7 separate regions of the Homo sapiens genome follow, and regions 2, 3, 4, 5, 6 and 7 are each linked to region 1. The links are contacts of gene promoters, found by promoter capture Hi-C in blood cells and fetal thymus (Javierre and others, 2016). All regions are on one chromosome and are shown on one strand. Each heading gives the region's core, a stretch centred on a gene start or on the middle of the fragment in contact. The rest is flanking DNA. Distances are from core to core; before and after follow the strand shown. Region 1 holds the start of APOBEC4 (apolipoprotein B mRNA editing enzyme catalytic polypeptide like 4). Region 2 overlaps NMNAT2 (nicotinamide nucleotide adenylyltransferase 2). Region 3 overlaps TSEN15 (tRNA splicing endonuclease subunit 15). Region 4 overlaps NMNAT2 (nicotinamide nucleotide adenylyltransferase 2). Region 5 overlaps COLGALT2 (collagen beta(1-O)galactosyltransferase 2). Region 6 has its middle 2.1 kb from the start of TSEN15. Region 7 overlaps COLGALT2 (collagen beta(1-O)galactosyltransferase 2).

Region 1 (3,445 bases), core at 463-2,962:
CTGCAGTAACTCTGGCACCACATACCCACCAGATTCTAGATTTCTCCTAGCCTCTGCTGTGTCATCTTAATCCATAGGATTGGACATTAGCTTTGTTTTTTCCTTAGTACTATATTTTCCTGATGTAACTGAATTCCTGCCTTGAGGCTTCCTAGACCTTGTCATAGCTTTCCTTCTAGAGAGCTGGATTTAACCCTTGGCAGTGGACGATCTCTTGGAACCTGACGCCATTTCCTGCTTACTCCCGAGCATTGTTTCCTCTCTGGACCTCCTCCTTGCTTAGCCTTCATCAGGCTGGATGGATCTCTCCATCAGAACTTGCCAAAACCAAGCCCAAACTTTCATGCTTTTTAATATTGTGCCCTTGATGTGGTCGACTTATGGGTGGTACACCGGACATCCAGGTTACTGCTCAGATTACAATTTCAACTCACCCATAGACAATTTACAGATTGATTTGGCTAAATGTTATGGAAACAGAACCAAAAGGCACTTTTCTGTCTTTATTACTATTTCTTAAGGTGATGTGTATGTGGAGTTAACTATATATAATGGTCCCATAATTACCCTTTTGGGAAACAAAAGTCTTTGTGTGTTTTTAGATAAAGGTAGCAAAATGGAAACTCCCTATTGCTTTTCTAAGCACGCCTTCCTTTGCACCCCCATCTTCTGTGGCTGTTTTAGCCAGAAATGATACATCATTACTGTCTTTAAGGAGATGGAGAGGACTGTGGCTTTAACACATAGTGGAGGGAGCTCTGTAGTCTCATTCTTGCTGACAACTTTTCAGTGTCAACCAACTATAGTTTCCTATTGGTGAAGTTTTCACTTTTTCAGAGTCTTTCTGGGCTTGTTCTTTGATCACCCTCATCTGAAGAGGAAGCAGGAAAGAACTGTTGCCCTCTTTGAACTCTTAGAGAATTCATGGTTTATTGTATCAATTTGTTATCGACCACAGATTATCTTGTTAACTTTTGGTATCTGTCATTTTATTCTCCCCAACCAGGTGGAAATGTACCCTGTTTAGGCCCAGGACCTACCTTAGCAACCTTGATTGGCTCACAAGCCAGGTTGCTTAAGACTTGTTTCCCCAGCAGCTGGTGTCCCTACTTCCTGCCTAGCCCTTTTCCTTTTGCTTTGTCTGTGCTTGGGAAATACATGTTATACTCTGTAGAGCAGATTTGCTGGCAGTAAGAACAGAGATGTGTAGAGCCCAGCGTGCTGGAGGGCTCTCTGCATCTGGCTGTGAGTGGCCCCTGGACTGGGACCGTGGGAGGACAGCTTTCCATAGTTTAACATAAATGAACCACACCATAAGGACAATCTGCTCTCATTTCACTCAACTAGGATTTAGTGAGTACTGTTAAAGCACAGTTTGCACTGGAGTAATTGGAGAATGGAGTTTGCCCTTCACAATCTGTGCACAATCTGTTAGCAGCTAAAAACAAATGTTAGCAGTTATAATTACCATCAATTTGTCTCCAGGCTTGGATCACATTCCAGGTGTTAGAAGAGATGGTCCATTTCCTTTTTTTTCTCCTTTAAGTCCCATGCCCTGTTTCAAGTAGCTTCAGAAGGCAATTGTGCTGTAAAGATTCACCTTGTAATGGGTTCAGGACTCTTTCACAGTTTGTGTCTATTCGTTCATTTGAACTTTGCTGTTCCAAGTTAGAAAGCCCTTGCTGAGGTGTGGCTACCTCTAAGAACACTGTTGATTGGGTGCCATGGTAACGTTTGCAAAGTAGCTACTGCTAGGATACAGCTCTGACACTTATTACTTTATTTGCATATCAAGCCACCTGTTCCAAAGATGAAAATATACAGGACTGCATATCCCAGTCTGGGTAAAAGGATAATAGCTGACTGTTGAAGAGAACATGTTGCAGTTTTTCTCCTGCTAGCTGAAGAATCAAGTTCTGAGGGCCTGCTCCTCAGCACCTTTCTCCTGGTCTAGAGTAGGTGCCAGGCCTGGCGGTTCTGTTGCCTGCGTGGGTGCCAGGGCTTCTCCTTGGGAGGCTTGCCCTCTGTGAGAGGGAGCAGAGAGTTGACTTCCTCCAAGAGGCCCATAGTCCCTGAAGGGGGTGTTTTTGATTCTGTCTAAACCTAGGCTATGTGTTAGCGGTTTCCCTCCTCTTAGAAATTGCCTGGAAGACTCTTGCTATTGGTATGTATGTGGTTCCCTCCAGTTTAAGACAAGATTTGTTCCAGGATCGGTTGTAGCCCCTTCTCTGTGGCTAACGGAAGAGCCACTTGTCCTTCTCCATTCTTTTCCTTAGTCTCCCTTGACCCCCACATCATCTCCTAGACACAAGGCACATTGATAGTCACAATTCACTGTCAATCACTCTGGATTATTCCCTCATTCCCCTTTCCCAGGCCACCTGAAGGAGTGAGTGGGGATTGCTATTGTGTACATTCCAGTAATAACTATTGGCTGTAAGCAGACATACTCTAAAAATAACTCAGGGATACTGAGCACCCAGAGGGCACCTTCTGTCTTCTCGAAGCTTCGCCACGCCTGTTTCCACTGTCAGACTTCCAGTCTGCACCACAGCACACATCCTTTCTCATCCAGAGTGCTCCTACTAGACGAGATGTTTTTGTCTCCTAAGGGCCTCAGGTGTATTCATGAACTCCTCAGCTGGTTATTTTCAGTTTCATCTTCCTTGGTGCTTGCTCTGGCACATGGTCACTGCTGCATCCTGTCCCTTCCCCACAGTTTGCCATGGGTCATCCCTTTTTTCTCATTGCTTGCATCTTCTAACTGAATGAACTTGTAAATATGGAACTGAAAGTCAATCCTCATAGCTCATCTTTTATTTAATCCTAATAAATGACAATCTATTGCAAACATTACTTTAAAAATATTACTTATCAAAAGCTGGGTGAAAGGATAATAGCTGACTGTTGAAGAGAACATGTTGGGGTTTTTCTCCCGCTAGCTGAAGAATCAAGTTCTGAGGGCCTGCTCAGTTCTGTAAGAAAGTATTAGCTGTCTGACAGGTTCCAGTGAGGGGAGGAAAAGACAAAAAATATAGTCCCCAAATCTGCACCAGCATCCCATGTGCACTGTGCACCTTCCATGGTGGATTAGATGCTCAGCAAATGATATACCTATGGAAGGTTAAGCCTAAAGAAACAGGAAAAATGAGCCTTTGTCCACTAGCACATTTATCAATTGCATTTTAGGGTGATTTTAGGGATAGGCAACCCCAATTAGTCATTATTCTTTAAAGGTAGTTGTCTGTTAGATGTAGGAAGACTCCAAGGAATGTTAAGTTGGCAACATTCCATTTAGGTTGCACAGAATGACTTTTAAGACTAAACTTCATCAGGAGGAAATGAAAGGCCTTTACCATGGTTCCTGTTCACAGTGAAATTGACATGTATTGGAAAGGAGATGCTTGGAAGAAATGTCTAGCTTCCCCAACAGACTCCTTTCTTC
Region 2 (3,545 bases), core at 449-2,948, 370 kb before region 1:
GAAGGTAGGGCATTAGGGAACAGGCTTCCTGGTACCCAACACACAGTCTGCCTGAGGGCCTCAGCAGGAATTATTGGGATGGGGTGGGGTGGGTGCAAGTAGGGGTGTGGTGTGCCACCTGAGGAGGGTGAATGGAGAGCAGTCAGGCATAAAACGGACAGGAAGCTTTCCTCCCGCTCCAGGAGCAGCACTTCACATTGCTGGGACTTTCAGAATGAGACAGCCTGGCTGGGGAGCCAATGCCGAACACACACACGCTCATGCTGAGCGCCTTCTGTTTCTGTGTTTGAGGGAGGCTGGCCACAAGAGCAACATCCTTACAACCTAGGGAGATGGCTTTCTGGGCCACAAGAGGTGGCTGGCTCTCCTTAGGGATTACCTGGTTTAAAGAACAAGCACACTGTGGGTGCAGAACTTTTTCACATGGTGGAATGTAGCAAGTGCCTGCAGGAAGATGTGAAAGACTGAGTCTTCGATGTGCCCTTGTGTGTGCAACGCCTGTGTGGGGGGATACGTTGTGCACAAGTACGCACACACACACAATCACGGGAATTTGCGGTGGGGGGAATGTGCTTGAGGATCTTTGCTGAAGGAATGAAGGGAGGAGAGAAAGAAAAGAGACAGGACTGGGAATCAAGTTCCTTGGTTCCTCACCTACAAAGGTGAAACGCTCCACCGGCGGGCGGACACAGCAGATCCGGCTGAGGCTTTCTCCCACCTTCCCCAAGATCTTGGCTATGGGAGAGAGCAAGACAGACAGGGACAGAGTGGGAGAGAACAACTCACAACTGGCACTCATGTCGGCCCGGCATTGGGGCCGCTGTAAACATCAGGGTGCATGGACGGGGCAGGAGTGGGGAGCAGGAGGTAGCAGGAGGGTAGAGAGAAAGAACAGAAATATGACAGCACAAATTCCTTCTTCTCACTCACAGTCTGAGGCACACGCATTGTGAGCCCTAGACTGGAAGCCATTTTCTGGTTATGTTTATTTCATTGTTGAAAACTTGGAAAATATAGAAGAGGGAAAATATAAAGAGGAAAACTTAATGCACCCATAATCCCACCCCAAGAGATAACTCCTGCCAACCTGTTGGCATGTCATTTATTTTCTTTCATGTTTTAAATGTGTATTATGCAGGTATGTCTACATAAAGTGGATCAGATTTTCCATTTAAAGGGCATATAGGCTGCTGGCTTCTTTCATTTTCTATATCATGAACATTTCTTCCCCAGGTTTGTCCCAAGCCTATCCTTAGCTGCTCCTCCCACTGGGCAGCTACACCCACATCCAAGGAGATTCAGCAAAGTACATGCTTGGAACCATTTCTGCTGGGCTAAGGCGCTCCTTCCCATGCAGATGGTCTTCAGAATCATCAGACATCCTATTTGGCTGAGAGGGATCTGGTTTTCAATTATCCCTCTGGGCTCCAATCCAGAAAAATTTTCTGAGCCCCCCACATGTAGCTGTATGCAAACTGTGAAATTCTGACTCTTCTTTGTGAATTACCCTGTTTATAATAGACCAATAATATAATAGCTTATGGTCTCCAGGCTTGAAAAGTAATATCAGAATCTGTCTCTTGGAGTTGGCTTGAAGAAAATTTTAGAGCATGGACCTGGGAGCCTGACAGTACTGAATATGAATTCTAGCTCTTCTACTTTTGAGCTGTGTGACAAATCAGCAAATCACTTTTCTTCTCTGAATCTGTATTCTATTTGAAATGAGAACATAATGTCTATATCACAGTATTACTGCATTAAATAAGAACGCAGGTAAAGCACGAGCATCATTTGGGCACATAGTCCTAGGTTTGGGGTATGTGTTGGTGCTCTCTGTCACTGGATTGATGGCTAAGAGTGTGGGGATTCTGGGTGCGGACCGCCTGGGTGTGACTCATGGCCCTGCTTCTTGCTCACTGTGTGACCTTTGGCAAGATCCTCAACCTCCCTAGAAGAGGCAGAGAAAAATGCTCCATTTTGTATATTCAATTCCCAGTTAACACAATTATTTCTCAAAATTTATGTATTTTTTTGAGACAGGGTCTCACTCTGTCTCCCAGGCTGGAGTACAGTGGCACAGTCCCCCAGTCCCTGCAACCTCCTCCTCCTGGGCTCAAGAGATCCTCCCACCTCAGCCTTCTGAGTAGCTGGGACTACAGGTGTGTGCCACCATGCCCAGTTAATTTTTGTTATTGTTATTATTATTATTATTATTTGGTACAGGTGGGGTTTCGTCATGTTGCCCAGGCTACTCTCAAACTCCTGGGCTCAAGCCATCCACCCACCTCAGCCTCCCAAAGTGCTGGGATTACAGGCGTGAGCCACCAGGCCCGGCCCTACGTTTATATTTAAATGCAGGAGAAGAGTGCACACCACCACCTGCCTCTCTCTGATTGTGACTGGTTTGCTCTTATGCTCAGTATTCAGGGTCCTCAAAGTATTGTCTCTGGACTAGCAGCATCAGCAGCACCTTATTAAAAATACAAGTCCTCTTTCCCCTCTCAGACCTACTGAATCAAGTTCTGGGTGGATCCCAGTAGTCATTAATTTAACAAGCCCTCCACATGATTCTGAGGTCTGAGAATCACACATCAGTGTTCCCCTACCTGCAGTGGGCTTGGTGGCCACGTTGCTGTTCTGGTAAATGGGCTGGGGGGTCTCGTTTTGTGGCTGTCCGATCACAGGTGTCATGGAAGGTGTGTTGACATTGGAGAGGATGCAGCCAGTCACCCTCTAGGGAGAGAGAGAAGAGTGTTATTAGTCATGTGACTTTGAGAATCGTTTCAAAGTTATCTCCAAGTGGTCATCTGCTTGTCCATCATGGAGAGGCCACCCAGAGCTGAGGAAGAGCCCTGGGGATGGGTTCTAGACCCAGCTGCATCATGTGGTCACTAGGCTGGCAGGAGCAGCTCAGTGGGAGAAGCATGAGATGTGGTGTTATAATGGGTCCTGGGTCCAAATTTGGGCTCTGCCTCCTTCTAGCTATGTGACCTTGGACAGTTATTTCATCGCTCCTGAACCTCAAATCAGGAGTCTAACCATATATCTGTCTTTTTCAGTTGTGGTCGGGTCACACAAGCGAGCATATGCAAAGTGCCTATGGGGTGCCTGACCCATGGCAGGAGCTCTGTCAGCAGCAGGCGATGCTGGAACCTTCTGTGTAACATGAATATCTGCCCTCCCCAAATGCTTCATGGGGCTCAAATGAGATCATGTCTGCAAAAGGGCTCTGTAAGCTTGGGAAAGGTCATACAAACACAAGGCACGATCACCACCTGCGGCCTCTTTGGGCCAGAGCTGTCAGTAACACAGCCAAGCAAGAGGGAGAGTGGTGCCAGGCAGCACAGGATGTGTTTGTGCTGCGGGAAGCAGGGTGGGTGGGTTCTGAGCACTCTCTCGCCTGCTCAGTGTGAATACACATGACAGAGCCAAGTGGAAATTCTGTGTGTATTATCTATTGTCCTGAGTTATCTGCCAGGCTACTCCTCACCAGTGCTGCAGAAAACACAGAGCTGATAAGGCAGCATTCCTCACAGCTGACCCAG
Region 3 (3,525 bases), core at 836-3,335, 410 kb after region 1:
GTAGGGAAAATTAAAAATTTATTTATTGTTCTTACCCATCACTAAAAATGTTATAAATGTATTTGATTTTACTTTTTATTTAAATATAATTAATACAAACATAATTATATACTACCTAGAGGCAAAATTTGGTTTTAGGATAGAATAAAAAGGTAAATTACAAATTATTCCAGTATTTTCTAAGTTGCTTATTTATTTATTGGCTGCCTGGGCTCATCGGGTGCAAAATATTATGGACTTTGCCTACAAGATGCTAACAGTCTGGAGCTGAGATGGACAGTCATTTACATCTAGTGTGATAAACGTAATGACAGATATGTACAGGGTACTGAGGAAGACCACAGAGGGAGGAGACCTAACTTTGACTGGTGGGATAAAGAGACAAGAGAGTCTGGGAAAACTTACTGGAGGACAAGATGTTTGAAATATGCAAGAACAAGGAACAAGGATGGGAATGGATGCCCTGGTTAAAGTAATAACATGAGCAAGGTATTGAGGGCTGAGAGGGCCTGAAATTTGCCAATAGTTCATTATGACTGGGTATGTAGTAATGGCAGAGAGAGTACCTGCCTGCAGTTGGTGAGAAAGCCCTAGATTGGTGTGGCATGGGTGGAGAAGGAGTGAGTATGTGTGATACAAGAGATATGGGAATGATGGGAAAAGGAGGGGAGGAAAGGAGAGACAGACATAGAAAAAATATGAAAAAACAAACAAACAAACAAACAGCTCTCCTCCTGGGAAGTAACAGTTCAGGAGAAGCAACCTCTTAAGGATTAAGGAAGTCAAAGGTAAGAGAAAGTTAAATCAAGAGTTTTGCCACTACAAAATCTGTAGGAAATCCTGAAACAAAGGTGGGAAAATTATTTGAGTCAGAATATTAGGAATTGTAATGCTTGTTTCTGTTTTCTGTAATGGATACCAATTACAATGTGCAAATCTGTAAGGATATAGATGTTTAGCTATTAATGCAAGAACCTAATTTGGGGATTTGAGGAGGTTAAGTAACTAGGGTTTAGTCATCTGAGCTTTTCTCTTCATTATACTCACTCCCTAAGCGGCCTTATCTGGTTCTAAGGTTTTAAATATCATCGATATACTGATGACTCCCAAATTTTTATCTCCATCCCAACCTCTTCCATGAACCTCAGACTCATATATGTAAGTGCCTACTTGACATCTCCGCTGTGATCTAAAAAAGGCATCTCAAATTAGCATGTCCAAAAAGAAATCTTGATTTGCTCCTATACTTTCTCCTTCTGTCGTTTTCTTTTTGTCAATAAATGGCAACTCTATTCATTCTGAAGCTCAGACCAAAAACCTTAGAGTCATTTTAAAATGTATACACACACACACACACACACACTTTATTTTTTAGACCAATTTTAGATTTACAGAAAAAATTGAGCAGATAGTACAGAGATTTCCCATCTAAGTCCCAGTCCAGCATAGTGTTTCCCCTATTATTAACATCTTTGTGTTAGTATGGTACATTTGTTACAATTAACCAATATTCATACATTATTAGTATTATTAACTGAAATTTGTCATTTACACTAGGGTTTATTCTTTTTGCACAATTCTGTGGATTTTGACAAATGCATAATGTCATGTATTCATCATCACATACAGAATAGTTTCAGTGCCATAAACATACCCTATGCTTCATTTATTCATCCCTTTCTTCACCCCCAAACACATCCCTGGCTGCTACTGAACTTTTTACTTTCTGTGTTGTTTTGCCTTTTCCAGAATGGCATATAGCTGGAATTATACAGTATGTAGCCTTTCAGATTGGCTTTCACTCAGCAATATGTATCCCTGCTAGCATGGCATTTTGGGTTTTAGCTACCCTAGTGGGCACACAATGGCATCTCATTGTTCTTTTAACTTCTTGCAATTTCCTGATGACATATGATGTTGAGCATCTTTTCATATGCTTATTTGCCACCTGTATATCTCCTTTGGTGAGGTGTCTGTTCAGATTTTTTGCCCATTTTTAAATTGGGTTTTCTTTTTGATAAGTTTCAAGACTTCTGTGTATATTTTGAATGCAAGTCCTTTATCAGATATGTGTTTTACAAATATTTTCTCCCAGTCCATGGCTTATATTTTCATTATCTTAACATTGTATTTTGCAGAACAGAAGTTTTAAATTTTAATAGAATCTGATATAATTTTTTTCCTGGATCATGCTTTTGGTATTTTATCTAAAAACTCATCACCAAATCCAAGGCATCCTATTTTGTCTTCTAGAAGTTTTATAGTTTTGCATTTTACATTAAGGTCTGTGATCCATTTTTAGTTAATTTTTATGAAGGATATAAGGTCAGTGTTTAGATTGATTTTTTCCAGGTGAATATCCAGTTACTCTAACACCATTTGTTGAAAAGATGTTTATTTCTTCATCAAATTGCCTTTTTTTTTTTGGTCAAAGATCAATTGACTATTTATGTGAGTCAATTCTGAGCTCTCTATTCTATTCCATTGACCTATTCATCTATTCCTTAACCAATACCACATGATCTTGATTACTATAGCTTTACAATAGGTCTTTTTTTTTTCTTTATGTGATTTTTTTGAGACAGGGTCTCACTCTGTTGCCCAAGTTGGAGTGGAGTGGCACGATCTCGGCTCACTGCAACCCGGTCCGCCTCCTGGGTTCAAGCAATTCTCATGCCTCAGCCTCTTGAGTAGCTGGGACTACAGGCGCATACCACCACACCTGGCTAATTTTTGCATTTTTAATAGAGACAGGGTTTCACCATGTTGGCTAGGCTGGTCTCAAACTCCTAACCTCAAGTGATCCGCCTGCCTTAGCCTCTTAAAGTGCTGGGGTTACAGGTGTGAGCCACTGTGCCCGGCTTGTAATAGGCCTTAAAGTCAGATAAAATCAGTCCTCTCACTTTGTTCTTTAACACTTTGTTGGATATTCTGACTCTTTTGCCTTTCCATATCAATTTTACAATCAGCTTGTCAATATCTACAAAACAACGTGCTGGGATTTTGAATGGGATTGCACTTGTAGATCACATTGAGAAGAATTGGTATCCAGGAACATGGACTATCTCTCCATTTGTTTAGATCTCCTATGATTTCTTTCATCAGAGTTTTACAGTTTTCCTCACATAGATCCTATAAATATTTTGTTAGATTTATACCTAAATATTTATCTTTTATGATGCTGATGTAAATGGTGTTTTGTTTTTAATTTCAAATTCCAATTGTTTATTGCTGATATATAGGAATACAGTGGACTTTTGTATATTATCCTTGTATCCTGTAACCTTGCTATAATCTCTTAGTTTTTATTCTTCCATTTTCTCATACCCCCAAATTAATTTATCAGTAAACCCTGTCAATTCCTTAAAATTACATCCAGAATCTGTCCATTTCTTACCACTTACACTACAACTGTTACCACTCTGGCTTAAGCTGCTATTATCTCACCTCCTGGACCTACTAAGTGGTCCTCCTTTAAAACACTTGATATATTAATGCTACTCAACATATTTCATATTTGGTTTT
Region 4 (3,834 bases), core at 551-3,050, 380 kb before region 1:
ACCTTTGGGAATTGTTGCTTTAAATCACATGGACAATTACCTAAGCTGCTAATATTCTGGCTTGTTTAGGGTGGGGTCAAAATGAGATACTTGTGGGACAGGTACCTCAGCACCTCTGAGAAGTCCAGCAAGAATAAGGACATTCCCCCTGTGCCCTGGGGAGTGGGGGGGTGTAAGGGCAGACATCTGACCCCAGGAAGCATAGGGCACTCAGATCCCCTTCCTATGCCGCCTGCAGGAGTGTGCCCAGGCCTCTGGAACTGAACTATTTTTCTGCTCGAGGGGACCAGCACCTCCTGTCTTCATGAAGAGCTCTCTATGGGTCTTGCCCTTGGGGGTGGAGAGGTGGGGTGGGCGAGTGGCCAATGCGGTAGAACTGTCCTGATTGGTAAATCTCATTCGTGATGGTGGCCAATGTGACCCCACACCATGGGCAGGATCAGGACACAATCTTCTCCCCCTGCAGCATACAGTGGCCCTCAGTTTAGCACTGGCATATGTCGAGCCTCAGAGGTGGGGGTCTGTGACATTTATCCTGCTTCTACTTCCTGCTCACAGGCACAGCTTTGATCATATCTTTTCATCTTCTGGTCAAAGGCTCCCCAGGGGAGGTAGGGATAGGGATGGGGAGAGGATGTGGGAGGGGGTAGACTCTGCTTCCCCAAATGTGGGGAATCTGAGGGAAGGATATGAGACATGTTGAGGCAGGAAGCAACTTGGCCTTGGAAGAGAAAACACTCATGATCCAGGCAGCAGAGCTCTTGGAAGGAACGTAGAGTTTGCATCATCCCTCCAAGAGGCTGAATTTCAGCCTCTTGCCCTGCCTTGCTGGATTTAAAGGGATGCTTTGAGTGGGTGGATGACTTGTGGTCTTAGCCAGGCACTTTCCTAGACACTAGGCATGCAGGGTTGAGCAAGGCAGATATGGATTCATCTCTTGGACAGATCACTCTCTAGTGTGAGACATTAAACAAATGATTATTTTCAATTGTATCTACTGCTGTGAAGATATGAGTAGGTTACTACCGGGTGGCTAATATCTTACAGTGACTAATATATTATGGGTAACTGGCAAAAGTTTGGGTCATATCCCATGGGGGAGGCAAACTGTCTTATGAGCTGAACTCCTCCAACCAAGTTGTTCTCAAGCACCCTTTCACTCAACAAACTTTTATTGAGCATGTATATGGTGAACTGGGCACTGTTCTGGTATTGGCAAATAAGACAGGCAAGTTTCCTGTACTCAAAGGGCTTACCTTCAAGTAAGGAGAGATCATAAACAAATAAATATATAAATAAGAAAACATCATGGCAAGGTGTGATGTCTCACACCTGTAATCCCAGCACTTTAAGAGGCCAAGGTGGGAGGATCACTTGAGGCCAGGAGTTCCAGACCAGCCTGGGCAACATGGTGGTAAGACCTCATCTCTACAAAAACAAATTTTATTTTAAATTAGCTGAGTGTGTTGGCACGTGCCTGAGTCCCAGCTACTTGTGAGGATGAGGCAAGAGGATCGCTTGACCCCAGGATGATTGCTTGAGTCTAGAAGTTCAAGGCTGCAGTGAGCTATGATCACGCCACTGCACGCTAGCCTGGGTGATAGAGTGTGACCCTGTCTCTGAAAAATAAATAAATAAAAAGAAAACATCAAATAGAGTTAAGTACAATATTGATTATAAAACAAAATGACCTTTATGTTGAAACCTACGTGATACGAAGGGATGGGCACAGGGATATCTAGGAGAAGAGGATTCCCAATGAGGCCACAGCTAGTACAAAGACCCTGAGGTGGGGAAAACTGTTTAAATAAACTAGGCGGGACTAGGACACACTGCGGTTGGAAAAGTAGACAAGTACCAGGTCATCATGAAGACAGGGTTTCATTCCAATTGCAAAGAAATGCCATTAGAGTATTTTAAACACAGGACTTGAAACTTCCATCGGCAACAGGATCCAATGTATGTGGATTTGCCCTGGCAGGCTTAACTGGCAAGATCCTCTGCAGGGCCATCCTGAGATCAGCGTTCTGAAGCCTGAGTTTCCCTCCCAAACAGTGTTCTCTTCTCAGGTACAGTACATCAGCGACTGCAGCCCATTTGTGTTTCTTCTCTGGATAAGGATAGTCAGGGATGCACATGGGCCCATTGGGAAGGAGGGGAAGAAACATTGATTAAGGTGCCTGCTATGTGCCATGCACAGTACTAGGAGCTTATCGCATTTAATCCTTATGACAACTGTCTTCTGAGATATGTGCCTCAGTTCTTATTTCATAGGTGGGGAAACCAAGACTCAGTGAGATTTAATAACCTGTCCAAGTTGCACAGCTAACGAGTGAATGTGAATGGAATCCACCGTGGTCTGCCTTAAAGACTCTTTCCTCCACATCACACCTCTTCTAGATCCACTTTTAAGACTCATATTGTAGTGACTTGAAACTTTTTTTTTTTATTTGAGACAGAGTCTCGCTCTGTAGCCCAGGCTGGAGTGCAGTGGCGCCATCTCAGCTCACTGCAAGCTCCGCCTCCCGGGTTCACGCCATTCTCCTGCCTCAGCCTCCCAAGTAGCTGGGACTACAGGCACCCGCAACCACGCCCGGCTAATTTTTTTGTATTTTTAGTAGAGACGGGGTTTCACTGTGTTAGCCAGGATAGTCTCGATCTCCTGACCTCGTGATCCACCCATCTCGGCCTCCCAAAGTTCTGGGATTACAGTAGTGAGCCACTGCACCTGGCCTTGAAACTTTTTTGGTTAAAGAAGTATTTCTAGTTGAAAATACATTCTACCTTATTTTTTCCCCCAGCTTACCATAGCTACTTGGGAGGCTGGGGTACTCTGTATCACCCTTAGAGTATTATAATTTTAGTATACTTCTGGATGAGTTTAAAAAGATGCAAAGAGAGAACTTGTGACAAAAGCCATGCAGTATATGAGCAGCTTCTGAAACATGCTCCCTCCATTTCAGTAAAGGATCCTCCACCCTTGCTGTAGCCCCTGCCACTCTCTGGAGGAAAGGCTGGGAGGAAACCAGTAAGGTCAGAGTCCAGCAGGTGGAAATGCATTTCCAGGATGGCCCTCTTAATGAAAAAAAAAAAAAGAGAGAGAACCATTCTTAAGAGGGGCTTCCCAGATGAAATCATCCCCACTCCCACTGCCAACTTAACTGGGGGTGTGGGAAGGCAGGGGATTCCAGACTCAAGTCAACAGCCTGGAAACCAAACCAACAGTGCCTTTCACATGAGAACAGCCAGAATCCCCCATTGGCAGGAGCTGAGCCTCCTTCCCCTGAGACTGTAATTTGGTATCGTTTGGTATCAGTCGTATCAGTGTGGGGGCCTAATCCCTGGGGTGCAAGAGTCCATCAGGCTTCCTGGCTGGAGCTGGACTGTCTGATAAAAACCATCTGAGCCTGAATAGCCAAAGTTTGTCTTTGTTCCATTTATCCTGGGGCCCTGGGATTTCTTCTGGAGTGGCTAATGCCCGAGGCTCTTCCTCTGTTTATTTTCTTTGGTTGTTTTCCCATAGCTGATGGATGTAGGAAGCAGTTAGCCCACGGCTGGTTGGCTGGAAAAATGTAGGATACAGCCAATTAGAACCAGCCTGTGGAATGCTGGGCTTTGAGGAGCGCAAAAAGAAAAAAAGATAAAACAATTCCCTCAGTGGCCATCTCTGGTGGCTGATGTTCCATCCCCAAGTTTTTACTCTTTTGGGTTAAATATTGACTCTTGCTCATTTGAAATGCAAATACTCTTGAGAGCAGCTAATACATGTAATCATTAAACTTAATGATTTTGCTGCTTGCTCAAAAGTTAATACCTTCCCAAATAAATACCAGG
Region 5 (3,637 bases), core at 554-3,053, 300 kb after region 1:
TTTCAACAAGGACAACAAGAGTTACAGATAATGAGGATGTCCTCACTATTCCCAGACTTAATGAACCATAGAAGTATCTAAAGCTTTGTGAATGCCTTTACACGTAAATCAATGTTTTAATAAGGTCCTTTTGCTACAAATAGTAAGAAACTCATTTTAAATGTTAAACTAGTGACTTTAACTGCCAGTGAGAAATGAGGATGACACATAGCATGGTAAAGCAGAAACCTATAGAAACAAGTCAGGTGGTGTTGACTTCATCCTGACTAACCATCTGGATGACTTTGAGGAGACATTAATGTTTATGGGTCCAGTTCTATAAAAATAGGGAGGTGCACAAACTCATCTTTCAAATTCAGTACAGATTAAAATGTTTAAGACAGGTGGTTTATAATAAAGTTGGCTTTCTGCTATGGCCAGAATAAAGGAGAAACTTTGTCTTAGAACCAGTCTGGAGTTCAGATTGTACTGTGTTAAGGTTTGGTTCACATGGTCATTCTGAATGCAGTCATAAATATATGTTTCACTGGAATTAAAAGCTACACTAACTAAAATTTCAACCCTTCCTTGCAAAATATTCTCATTTCTATCCATTTATAAATCCCTGGGTGTAGAAACTGATGGAGGAGCAAGATATTCCCTTTGAAGAAATTGTCCACCTGATTTAGGGCCAAGTAGATTAAGTGCATCCTAATTTTACTACCTTCCTTGTTTACCTAACTGGGTAATTATTTTGTAAAAAACATAATTTTCTGTGGTGACTCTATTTGCCTCATTACTTGGGACTTTATAACTTAATGGGTTGTGTTCTTTTAGTCAGAATCATACTGTGATGGGTCATGCCTCATCCCCTAATTTTCCAGATATGGAAAGGAAAGGGCATTTTCTCAGGTATAAACATGAAGCCACCTGAGGTCACTCTAAGAGAACAAAAACAGAACAGAACAAAAAATCAACAGAAATAAATCCAAAAAGGCCCCCAAAAACAGAGACCTCCAGTCTGGGAAGACTTTCAGTAAATAACAATCCAGTTCCAGTCCCTGCCAGGACAAGTGCAATAAAACTGTAGCCACGAAGTAAAAACACAGATGGCTCACTCACACTTAGTGAACAGTAAACAGAGAAAAGAGCATCAGAGCCAAATGCAGCCCAGACACCACCAGTGAGGTCACAGAGTCCGAGGAGGATTGAAAAGCCCCTGAAAAGCCCTTTTTCTACCATGCTATCTCTGTTCCATACGGAGAGGTGACTAACCTCAGACTCAGGAAAGTAGAGTCTCCGAGCCTGTGCCACTTCATGGAGTTGGCCTTCTCCTGAAGGGCTCTAGGAGTGACCCAGTCCTTACACCGTGTCCTGCCCAAAGAAGACCGGAACTGGAAGATCCTGGTTTTGTCTTATTTTATTTGCTTTGGTTTGGTCCTCATAGGAATGTTTTTAGGAGGAGAAATGAATCTATGTAAGGACACTTGGGTCCTTTCACCTAGGGAACCGAGAGAGAGCTGTAGGGAAGGAAAGCTACAGTAACATGTGGAAGCTGGTCCACTGTGGGTGTGGGACAACCTTCTCTATAGCCCTGATCATTTTTAAAAACTATTTGCAAATGAGTCTTATTCCTCTCTACTACATGCAGCTCATCTCTTCTCATTCTGCCCTTTGTGGAAATACCATAGTAGCTGTTAACTCTTCCCCACTTAATAATCATGAAATATTCTTTCCCCCTTCCTGAAGTATAGCTCCAAATCAGTCTTACGGAAGAAATCTTAATTCCCAGTTCTAGCGTCAAATCCCTTTGAGAAGGCTGTACTCTGGGGACATGTACATATATGTATGTATATGTTACCATGTGATAAATAAGGCATCTTCCTTCGATTAATCAGTGGCAATTAGCACCAAGCTCGAAGCCTGATCTGTTACATATCCAGAGTCCATGGAAGAGTTCTCAGTTTGTGGACTCCTGAGGCACTGCCCTAGCTTCTAGACCACCAAGCTCCTTCTGAATACTGTTCAGCAGCTACAGGGGACACCCATGAGAGAGTCAGTGATGTGGAGTCACAATCCCTGCCAAGTATCTGTTACGCATATTACCAGGAGGGGAACCTCTTAATATTTCTGCTTCATTCTTTATACAACTAAAACTTAATAATAAATACTACCCTTAGAATATTATTAGGAAGTTCTTGCCTGCTGAAAGGCAGAATTTTAGAACAAATATGTTTTTTTTTCTTTCTTTGTCCTCTCAACCCTGCTCTCTAACCTTTTTCCATGGAAGAATAGTAGAAATAAAAGAAAGCACAGAAAGTTCCAGAATAGTTTCCACTTGCTCAGATGTGGCAGAATAAAATTAAAGTCCTCCATATCTAAAACATGTATCCTCTGTATCTTACTCTTGAATTTTGATAAAAAGGTTGATTAAAAATATCACAATATCTGCTCCTAGAAAATATCAAATTCACTTTCATTACTAAATGGTAATTTCTTTCTAAGTAAATGATTAACTACATTTATCATGATACTCCTTTTTTTAAGATAAGGAAACTGAGAACAACAAAAACCAAGTAGTTTTCCCAAGACCTCAGAGCCATTTCAGCAGCCAAGCCAGTCTTGCTGGCTCTCAGATGCAAGCTCAGGCTTGTGTTCCAAAATGAACACACAAGCCTGCACACGCGTGCATGTGCACACACATATAGACACCTTTCCTACCTCATCAAATCCCATCTTGTCTGGATATTTAGGGACAACTGAGACATACTGGGAGGGTTCCATTGGAGGACGGTCAACTGGAAGACACAAGAAACATGCAGAGTGCTTTGTTAATGAAAGGGTCAGAAATCAGAATTCCATCCGCATGCCTGATCTCTAGGGTTGGAATATAACTTGGAAATACAGGGCAGGGGACAATGGCAGCAGTTCTCCAGGATTGAGTAGCCACACAGGAACCCTGCTGGTCAGGGCACTGGTTTCAGGAGCATTTGATTATATGGAGATTGCAACATTTGCTCCACTTCCCTTAAGACTTATTTCAAGAATATTTGGGAGGCAGTTTAGGATAATGGTTAAGAGGAAGGGCTCCAGAGTCGGATGATCTGGGTCCAAACCTTGGTTTGCGAAGGAGTAGGAGAGTTAGGGGACCTCTTTAAGCTCATTTCTTTGGTGTAAAATTGGGATAATAGAAGTGTATCTGTGTTATAAAATTTAAATGAGACCTGCGTGCAAAGCACTCACCACTTTAACACAGTAAATGCTCAACAACTCTTAGCTATTACTTACTATGGCCCATGATGAAAGAGCTCAGAAATAGGCTAGAATTTTTACTGAAAAACACTTTTTTCTCTGCATTTAAAATTGTCAAAGTGGGGGACTATTTTTATCCCACCTGGGCAGGTTTAGGTGTGGGTGCGCAAAAGGTCCATTGCTTTAACAGGATCTAACCACAGAGAGCTGGCCCATGTCTAATGGGAAGATTCCAGCTGGGAGTGACACTACTTCTTCAATAATGAAAGTTTTATTTATTTGATACTCTAAAAAAGCTTCCTTTGCAAACTATGTATTTTAAAGTTTGGAAGTAATATTGGTTAAGAAACCTGAAAAGGCCTTGAAGAATGTTTAGTATTATAAAAATTCAAAGTCCTCGAAGAAT
Region 6 (3,898 bases), core at 239-2,738, 400 kb after region 1:
ATTCCTTCTCCTGGCTCATCCTGGCTCAAAAGCTCCCCCACTGAGCACCTTGTGACCCCCCCCTCCCCGACCCCTGCCCGCCAGAGAACAACCCCCTTTGACTGTAATTTTCCTTTACCTACCCAAATCCTATAAAACGGCTCCACCCCTATTTCCCTTCGCTGACTCTATTTTCAGACTCAGCCCACCTGCACCCAGGTGGAATAAACAGCCTTGTTGCTCACACAAAGCCTGTTTGGTGGTGTCTTCACAGGGACATGAGTGAAGCATATGGTTTGTGCTTTTTGTGTCTTAAGAAATCACTCTTAAACTTGGGGTCATAAAATATTCTTTTATATTTTCTCCTAGAGATTTAAAAGTGTTTGCCTATACCGTGTAGCCAATCACCCCTTCTCTCCTTCCCTTCTTGCATCTGCCCACATGTGTATGGGTCTGTTGCCTGGCTCCCTATTTTGCTTCATTGGTTTTACCTATCCATGTGCCAATATCACATACTTGTAATTAGAGATCTTTGTAAGAATTTAAATTTTGTTTAAAACCTTATCTTTATAAGATATTTATATTTCAGAACTTTAACTTCGTAAGTTCTCTCCCTTTTGTTCACAAAAAGGGTCTTGGTTATTTTTGGCCCTTTATGCCCACATTTCAGAATCAGTTTATCAGGTATTAAGAAAATACTTTTTGGGATTTTAATTGGAATTGATAGAATCTGTAAATAACTTTGGAGGAAATTGCCATCTTTACAATATTGAATCATTCTCTTTCTTGAATCTTTCTCTGTTCTTGAAACACAGAGAATAGGAAATTGTGTGTTTTGTGTACAAAAAAAGGAACAAGATATATGTGAACCTCCTTACAACCAATGAATGAAAAGCTGATCCAGAATGCTAGGCTACATTTTTCAGCTTGGAATCACTGTCTCATACAATACTGTGTAAAAGCTTTTCTTCTTCTTTTTTAAATTTTCTTTCCACACTAGAGATTCACATCACAATTTAGTGTTCGCATTTCCTCGAGACTCTTACTGAATTAATATGTCTCTGGCTAGACATTACAGATTTTTGTAGGAATAAAATGATCTGGCTCAGGATATCATTGGGAAATGAGTTCAGCAAGTGCCAGATTACAATGAATTTGATTAAATCCAATATACTCAGGGGGGATTTCATTCGTTGTTTCTTATCTAGCTTTTTTTTCTCACTACTTTGGTTCTCTAATAGAGTGAACTATTGAAGCATTTACAAAATGAGAAATCCTCCAGGATACCAGACACTGAAACTCTCCTCTGTTCTCTAGTGGATTTCACTCTAGATTGTCACAATAGGTATTTTGATTCTGTACTTTAAATACTGGGTTGTCTAAGTGTTCCCAAATCCTTTGTGTTCATTCTTAGCCATTCACAATCACCAAGACCTATTTAAAAATTTACATTAACAGGGAAGCTAACAGACACTCCCTTTTCATTCTTCAACTCTTTTGAAAAGCACGTAATACTCATTCTTGAATGTATCATGCTTTTTCTAAGCAACAGTATTTAATCTATTTGCCAAAGGATGGCATTTATCTGTTGCTTTTTTGGTTTATGGTTCTTTCCATACCCCCAATTATTTTTTCTTGAACATAAGCTGAAATTCTTCCCCTGCAGATGTTTGAGGCTGGTTCATATAGTCCCTAATCCCATTGGATATCCTTACTGATTTATAAAAGTTTCCCTCTACTCAGATTAGCATCAAAATACTCTTAATGCTTTTAAAAATGCCATCATATGAACTGATTTGGATCTTTAGGAGTCAGAGAGATTTATTCACTTCCAATCACTTGAATTCGTGTCAGTGTTTCATGCTTCAATGACCCAATTAATTTCAGTGCCATTTTCTTCTTTCGGGCTTAGCAGCTGCTTTGTGGTGGCAAAGGTTCATTCAAATGTAATGTATTTGAGGGCAACATATGAATCTTCATGTGTGGCTTTACATTTCATTCAATAATAGATGCCCTTCTTTTCCCTGTGTATGATGTGTTATTTCTTTTGATGCATTCAAGCTTTTCTCTTTATTTTTTTGACTTTCAATAGTTTTATTACAATGTAGACTTCTTTGTGTTTATTTTAGTTGCTATGTATTTAGCATTTTGTACTAGTAAATGTGTTTTTCATCAAATTTGGGGAAATTCTGGCCACCACTCTTTCTTCAAAAATTTTTTCTGTCCCTTTTTTTTTCTACTTCTGTTGTTTACATGCATGTTGGATTGTCTGACATGTAGCAAATCTCTGTTGGTCTACTCACTTTTTAAAGATAATTTTTCTCTTTGTTGTTTACTTTTAATAATTTCTATTGCTCTATCTTCAAGTTCCCTACTTTTTCTTTTGTAATTTTTTTTGGCTGTTAAATTCACCCAGTGAATTTTTTATTTCTAAAATTATAATTTTCAATTTTCAGAATTTCCATTTGGTTTTAAAAATCTTTTTTTTTCTTTTTCTTTGCTGAGATTTTCTATTTGTCTCCTGAGATTTTCATTCATTGAAAACATGTTTTACTTCATTGAGGATAGTTATAATAGTCACTTTAAAATCCTTATCTGTCAGTTTCAATATCTGATTCATCTCAGGGTTGATCTCTAGAGTATGCGATCCATTTCCTTGAATTTCATATGTCAGATAGTTTTGGATAGTACTCTGGACTTTGTGAGTGTTAAGTGGAGAGTCTGGATTCTATTATTCTTCTCTGATGAGTGTTATTTCCTTTGTATTAGTAGGTAATTTTCCCGGCTAGATTTTAACTGAAAACTCTCTCCCTTTTGGAGACAGCTCTGGTCTCAGTTCAGATCTTTTGTTTTTAACTGAGCTGCTGTGATTCTGTTTTGGGTGGTTCAGGATCTCTCAGAGATGTGGGTTGACAGTTTGGGGATCCACTCTCTGACTCCTTCCTTGGGATTTCTTAATCTCTTCAGAATTCAAAATTTTCTGTCTTCACTTTTCTGCTTCCCCAGACAAGAATAACTGATAAGTTTTATACATGCATCCCTGGTACTGCTGAGCCTGACTTCTGGACTGCACTTTGCCCCAAGCTAAATGCCAAAGAGAGGAGAATTTTCTTGTGGAGTTCTTGATCTTCAAGCAAGCTTGCCCTTCCTACCAGTCTGCTGTTCACATTCCAGTATATTCAGCTTTTTGTATTGTGTCCAAGTGTAGTTCCTGATCTTCAAGCAAGCTTGCCCTTCCTACCAGTCCACTATTCACATTCCAGTATATTCAGCTTTTTGCATTGTGTCCAAATTGTTTTCTGCTGGGGGATGGTCCACTAGGGTCTTAGTCTATCATGGTTGAAAACAGAAGTTATGTCCTGCCTGGGACTTTGGATTTTGAGTCACCCTTGTCCTGGTCAATGCGATAGCCTCCTAACCAGTCTCTGTTTGTGTCCTTGCTCCCTCCAGTCTATCCTCAACATATCAGTCAGAGTGATCCTATGAAAACGTCCAGGAGCCTCCAATAGCTTCCCATTTCACTCACAGTAAATTAAAAAATACTTAAAATGTGCTACTCTGCCTGTTTGAAACTCCTCATCCTTGGCTTCCAGATCACATGCTTATGCTAGTTTGTATCCTACCTTTCTGAACACTCGTTCAGCAACTCGTGTTTCCTCTAATCCTGAAACGTGGGTCCACCCTGAAAGTATGGTTCTACTTTAAAGTTCTATGTCAGGGCACTGAGTAAGGCCTTTCCCGTCCCCAGCAATCAGAAACCAGGACCCCACTGCTGAAGGCAAAGAGGACGTATGTATCCCCCAACTTTCTCAGAGAGTTATCGGCAGCACTGACTTAAAGAGGATTAAGAGCTTCAGGGCGCAGGCTACTCTTTAATATTTTTCACGTTAGAATTTGCTCAGATTTGAATAAACGCAGA
Region 7 (3,768 bases), core at 692-3,191, 370 kb after region 1:
ATCTAGAGATTTTTAAGCAAGACTGCATATTACCACCCTTTGGGAAGTTTTCAAAATACGTCAATTGCCCTGGATCATCAAATGATTCCAATAAGTGGCTGCATTTGAAAAGCACAATTTTAGCACATTTCCCTTATGTTACAGGAGAAACTAAGTGACTTGCTCAAAGCAGCCTAGCATGAGCAATGCTTCCAAGACCTTTCACAGGACAACACAGATAGCGTATTTGCACACTAGGGAAAAATGAAAGACGCTGCTTTTGGCTAGAGGAAACTGTCCTGGAGACCCCACTGCCACCAGCCTCACTTCATCTCCAGGTGATTGTTATTTTCTTGGTGGGATGTGCTAAGCTGTGGTATGCAGTTCACATTTTTGAGAAGGATAAAAGATACAAAAATAAAGTGGATGCATAAACTTAAGAACTTTATTGTAGAATTTTTGCCCTGTCACCAAAAGAGCACAAGAAAATAGGGTATGGAACCATATAAGACTTAACAACTGAGTTGCAATCTTCCCCACAGGAGGCTGCTGTACATGCAGTTATAATAATGCTGCTATATCAACTTCTTAAAAAATATTTGTTGTGCAGCAGCAACAAACTCAGAACAATCCTCTGTATAGCAGAACAGAACTGTGTGAATTTCTAAAAAGCCATATTTTGAGTTCATAGCTAGTGAAGACACCAGGGTTAGGGACTTTGTAATATCATGTAATTAAGGCTGAACTGCCAGCTACTAAAAACAGGCTAATTTAGTAGACTGTTTACATTTGTCACAAATGAGGGGAGGAATTTTTAATGGTATGCCAACGGGAAAAATCTAAGAAAATTAAATACAAGAAACAAAGAAACCAAGATTAGGGTATATAAGGACTGAAGTGGCTCAAATGAATTCTACTTAGTTTAAAGAAATGCACTGGTTTGATTTCCCTGTACTCTAAGATGTTCATTAGTAGGTATTTTTTCTTCTGCAATACTAAAGGCTTAATGAACTCATTGTGTAAGATACACTGAAGAAAGAATGTGAGGGAGTGTCGTTTTATACTGAGCCCCAGTGCAAGGAGCTTCATACAGTGGGTAAAACATTTGGGGCATTGTCTTTTAAAAAATCTTTTTAAAAAAATAGTCACTATTAGATGGAGATGGAACATATGTGCTTGACTTAATAATAATAACAAAAAAACACAAATGATGCATGCCTGGCTGGGTTTCTCCTATGTAATCCTGTACATTACTACTTCTCTTAATAAGAAAACCCCTTGGTCTTTTTGATGGCTTAAGCATCTGGAATCTGAAGTTTAGAATATTCCAGAGTATGCCAACTTTCCAAACTCTGAAAATCCCATGATCTGTACTTTAAGTGCATACATAGCCTTCTAGGAGCTCATCTTCTGCAGTTCCCAAACCAAGAAGAAGTGCATCCAAATCACTTATGTACATGCTTAACACACCAATTCCTAGGACCCCGCTGTGGACCATCTGATGAATGTGACTGAAATGGGCCCCAGAAATCCATGTATCTAACAAATGCTCCAGGTATTGTGATGCAACTGGCCTCTGAACCTGTATTTGGGAAACACTAGTTGAATCCAGCAGCCTTACACTAAAGGGTTGGCAGAACAATGGTAAGGACCATGTCCACTCATGGACAATGAACTAGACCAATGGGGACAAGTCACTTTTAGGCCACCTCAATTACTAATTTCAACATGATTACCTGGATTTATCCACATAGACAATCAGTGATGGTGGAATAAATAAAAGGATGTAACATTTTAAAAATCCATTGTTTTAGAAATCCATAGTTTGTCTTGCTAAATAAAAAGCTTACAATGGAAACCAACGTACCCAATAAATTTTATTAAAATCTAACAAGATTGAGGAAAGGCAGAGAAGAGGCTTGTACTTTTCTAAAATATTTTCGTATGCTGGCTGTTTCAAGCCTTACATGCCAATTCCACAAAATCCATTTGCAACACAAGAGATGGTCTGACTGTCTGAATACTCTCCCGCCCAACCTGTTTCTAGCACAAGGAAAGCAGTGGCGTGGAAGCTGCATATAAGCTTACTGTTCAATGGTGCAGTGATGACATGAAAAATCCTGATTCCACTTGGCAGCAACTTTCCACTATCTTGGCGGGTGTAAACCATAATCATTGTGGTGTGTGGTGCTGAGACAGGATTATGGGGCTGGCTGGCAACCAAGAAACTAAAAAACAGTCTATTAGTCCAGCAAGGGACTCCGTGTCGGGAATGCTATGGCCCCAAATGTCTACAACCACACTTTTCACAACTATCCCAAGAATTTAAGTTCTACTGTTAGTCTCTAGAAAATTCTACCTTTCCCAAGACTCTAAAATGCAGCAGTTTCTCACTTAATATGGCTTTCAGGGAGAACACCAATCAATGTACCTCCACAGACTCTCCTGTCTTAGAGTTATGTCTCTCTCTTGTGAGAATGAGATACTTGCCTTCACCACTGCCCTCCCCATCTCCAAAACATATACAATCACTCTCAGAAAGAAAAGGGACTGGAAAGAAACAGTCCTACTTCCCTCTTGGCAGCAATTGTATGCACTTTGGGCTTGGCAGTCCAAATGGGGAAAGCTCTATGTAAGGAACCTCCTCTCTGCAGCCTGATGTATCCCTCAATAGGTCTTGAAGTGATTCAACCTGGAAGGTAATGAACTATTCCAATAAAGCCAATGTGTGAATGAAATCAGGTACTCATGAAAATGCTTCAGCTCAGCAGCTTGTCCCAGACTCATCTTCTACCATACTCTTGGGGGTATACAGCCCAAGATCACTATTCTAAGATCATTATTTATGTTATTATTTGTGTTTCTGAAAGACATATCTTCTAAGATGTCTTCAAACATTAATCAGAAAACACTGGAGGGAAGGAGATTATTTTGCATTATGTTTGCAGAGGAACAAAATCTTATCAGTTAAACCAACAAGTCAGGGGACAGGCCTTAGCTTGCTGAATTTGACAAACAACTAAAATAATAATTGTTGCTTCAATTAAGTGAAACACGTTACAAAGTCAGCCCTAGCAAGATGTCATGGAGCTATTATTCAAAGTCTAACTCTGAAAGGATTTCTGTATGGTGCTCCTAGAGAGGAAAAGAAACGCCCTGCAGCCAAATCTGAGGTTTAATTCATGCAAGAGACTTGGCTAATGCCACCTACCACAAATGCTGCATTTTCACGGATCTGAACTACAGAAAGTTCCAGCAAATTAATTACAGCCACTCTATTTATATTCTACCTGACTTTTCAATTATTACCTATAATGAGATTTTTATTTTTATGAACATTAATGCACAGCTTTCCTACCAGAGGAGTAGAGAGCTAAGGGAAAAGTAATACAATCCTGATCCTTTTACCACTAGGTCACTCGCTGGCAGCTTGCCAAGCCTGCTGGTTCCCCAAAGTAGTTACTGCTTGGGTCCTAGGGTTCCTTCAGCAGCCTGAGGTGGGAGCAAAGCTCACCACCCAAATGTCAACATGGGTCAGGCAAGTCAAGTCAAAGAAAGACAGCGGGGACTAACTGCAAGTGCACACAGTGTGGGTCTGATGGGGACTGGGCTGCCTGGACAAAATCCAGGGGACAGCAGCTACTCAGCTCCAACAATAGTTGCTGTGTATGAATCCAGGCCTGGCAAGGTCAGGTGCTGGTTACATGGCATGTTTTGTCTGTGAAAAGTTACCAAGTTATACATTTATGATATATGAACTTTTGGATAAATATTACACCTCATCAAAAA

The links. The method cuts DNA at HindIII sites, captures the fragments that hold promoters and counts their contacts. A CHiCAGO score of 5 or more calls a contact.
Region 2: a fragment that was not itself captured here is called in contact with the fragment with the promoter of APOBEC4 in region 1 in 1 of 17 cell types (neutrophils); the score reaches 6.4 in neutrophils.
Region 3: a contact is called between a fragment that was not itself captured here and the fragment with the promoter of APOBEC4 in region 1, in 2 of 17 cell types (activated CD4 T cells and endothelial precursors). The highest score is 7.0, in activated CD4 T cells.
Region 4: a fragment that was not itself captured here is called in contact with the fragment with the promoter of APOBEC4 in region 1 in 1 of 17 cell types (neutrophils); the score reaches 7.6 in neutrophils.
Region 5: a fragment that was not itself captured here is called in contact with the fragment with the promoter of APOBEC4 in region 1 in 8 of 17 cell types (naive CD4 T cells, non-activated CD4 T cells, total CD4 T cells and 5 more); the score reaches 6.9 in naive CD4 T cells.
Region 6: a contact is called between a fragment that was not itself captured here and the fragment with the promoter of APOBEC4 in region 1, in 5 of 17 cell types (non-activated CD4 T cells, activated CD4 T cells, total CD4 T cells and 2 more). The highest score is 6.8, in non-activated CD4 T cells.
Region 7: a contact is called between a fragment that was not itself captured here and the fragment with the promoter of APOBEC4 in region 1, in 1 of 17 cell types (M1 macrophages). The highest score is 5.1, in M1 macrophages.

What each region holds. Positions count from the first base shown.
Region 1 is chr1:183,651,604-183,655,048 of GRCh38, forward strand. It overlaps APOBEC4 (apolipoprotein B mRNA editing enzyme catalytic polypeptide like 4), which reads right to left and starts at 1,713. Exons shown (of 2, transcript NM_203454.3): 1 at 1,469-1,713. It also overlaps a transcript of RGL1 not described here. The HindIII fragment of the contact is 5,397 bases long and covers 1-2,505 here.
Region 2 is chr1:183,284,056-183,287,600 of GRCh38, forward strand. It overlaps NMNAT2 (nicotinamide nucleotide adenylyltransferase 2), which reads right to left. Exons shown (of 11, transcript NM_015039.4): 5 at 2,607-2,733; 6 at 655-735. Among named protein-coding and RNA genes, the nearest start is that of LAMC2, 100 kb to the left of the region's middle. The HindIII fragment of the contact is 3,071 bases long and covers 164-3,234 here.
Region 3 is chr1:184,063,843-184,067,367 of GRCh38, forward strand. All of the region lies in intron 3 of TSEN15 (tRNA splicing endonuclease subunit 15), which reads left to right. Among named protein-coding and RNA genes, the nearest start is that of TSEN15, 14 kb to the left of the region's middle. The HindIII fragment of the contact is 5,213 bases long and covers 1-3,525 here.
Region 4 is chr1:183,267,450-183,271,283 of GRCh38, forward strand. All of the region lies in intron 8 of NMNAT2 (nicotinamide nucleotide adenylyltransferase 2), which reads right to left. Among named protein-coding and RNA genes, the nearest start is that of LAMC2, 83 kb to the left of the region's middle. The HindIII fragment of the contact is 7,306 bases long and covers 1-3,834 here.
Region 5 is chr1:183,952,062-183,955,698 of GRCh38, forward strand. It overlaps COLGALT2 (collagen beta(1-O)galactosyltransferase 2), which reads right to left. Exons shown (of 12, transcript NM_015101.4): 7 at 2,701-2,777. Among named protein-coding and RNA genes, the nearest start is that of COLGALT2, 84 kb to the right of the region's middle. The HindIII fragment of the contact is 3,444 bases long and covers 82-3,525 here.
Region 6 is chr1:184,047,661-184,051,558 of GRCh38, forward strand. No RefSeq gene overlaps it. Among named protein-coding and RNA genes, the nearest start is that of TSEN15, 2.1 kb to the right of the region's middle. RefSeq lists enhancers at 2,989-3,898, 3,677-3,786, 3,847-3,898, 3,855-3,898. The HindIII fragment of the contact is 1,099 bases long and covers 940-2,038 here.
Region 7 is chr1:184,025,936-184,029,703 of GRCh38, forward strand. The region is part of intron 1 of COLGALT2 (collagen beta(1-O)galactosyltransferase 2); the gene reads right to left. Among named protein-coding and RNA genes, the nearest start is that of COLGALT2, 9.9 kb to the right of the region's middle. The HindIII fragment of the contact is 238 bases long and covers 1,823-2,060 here.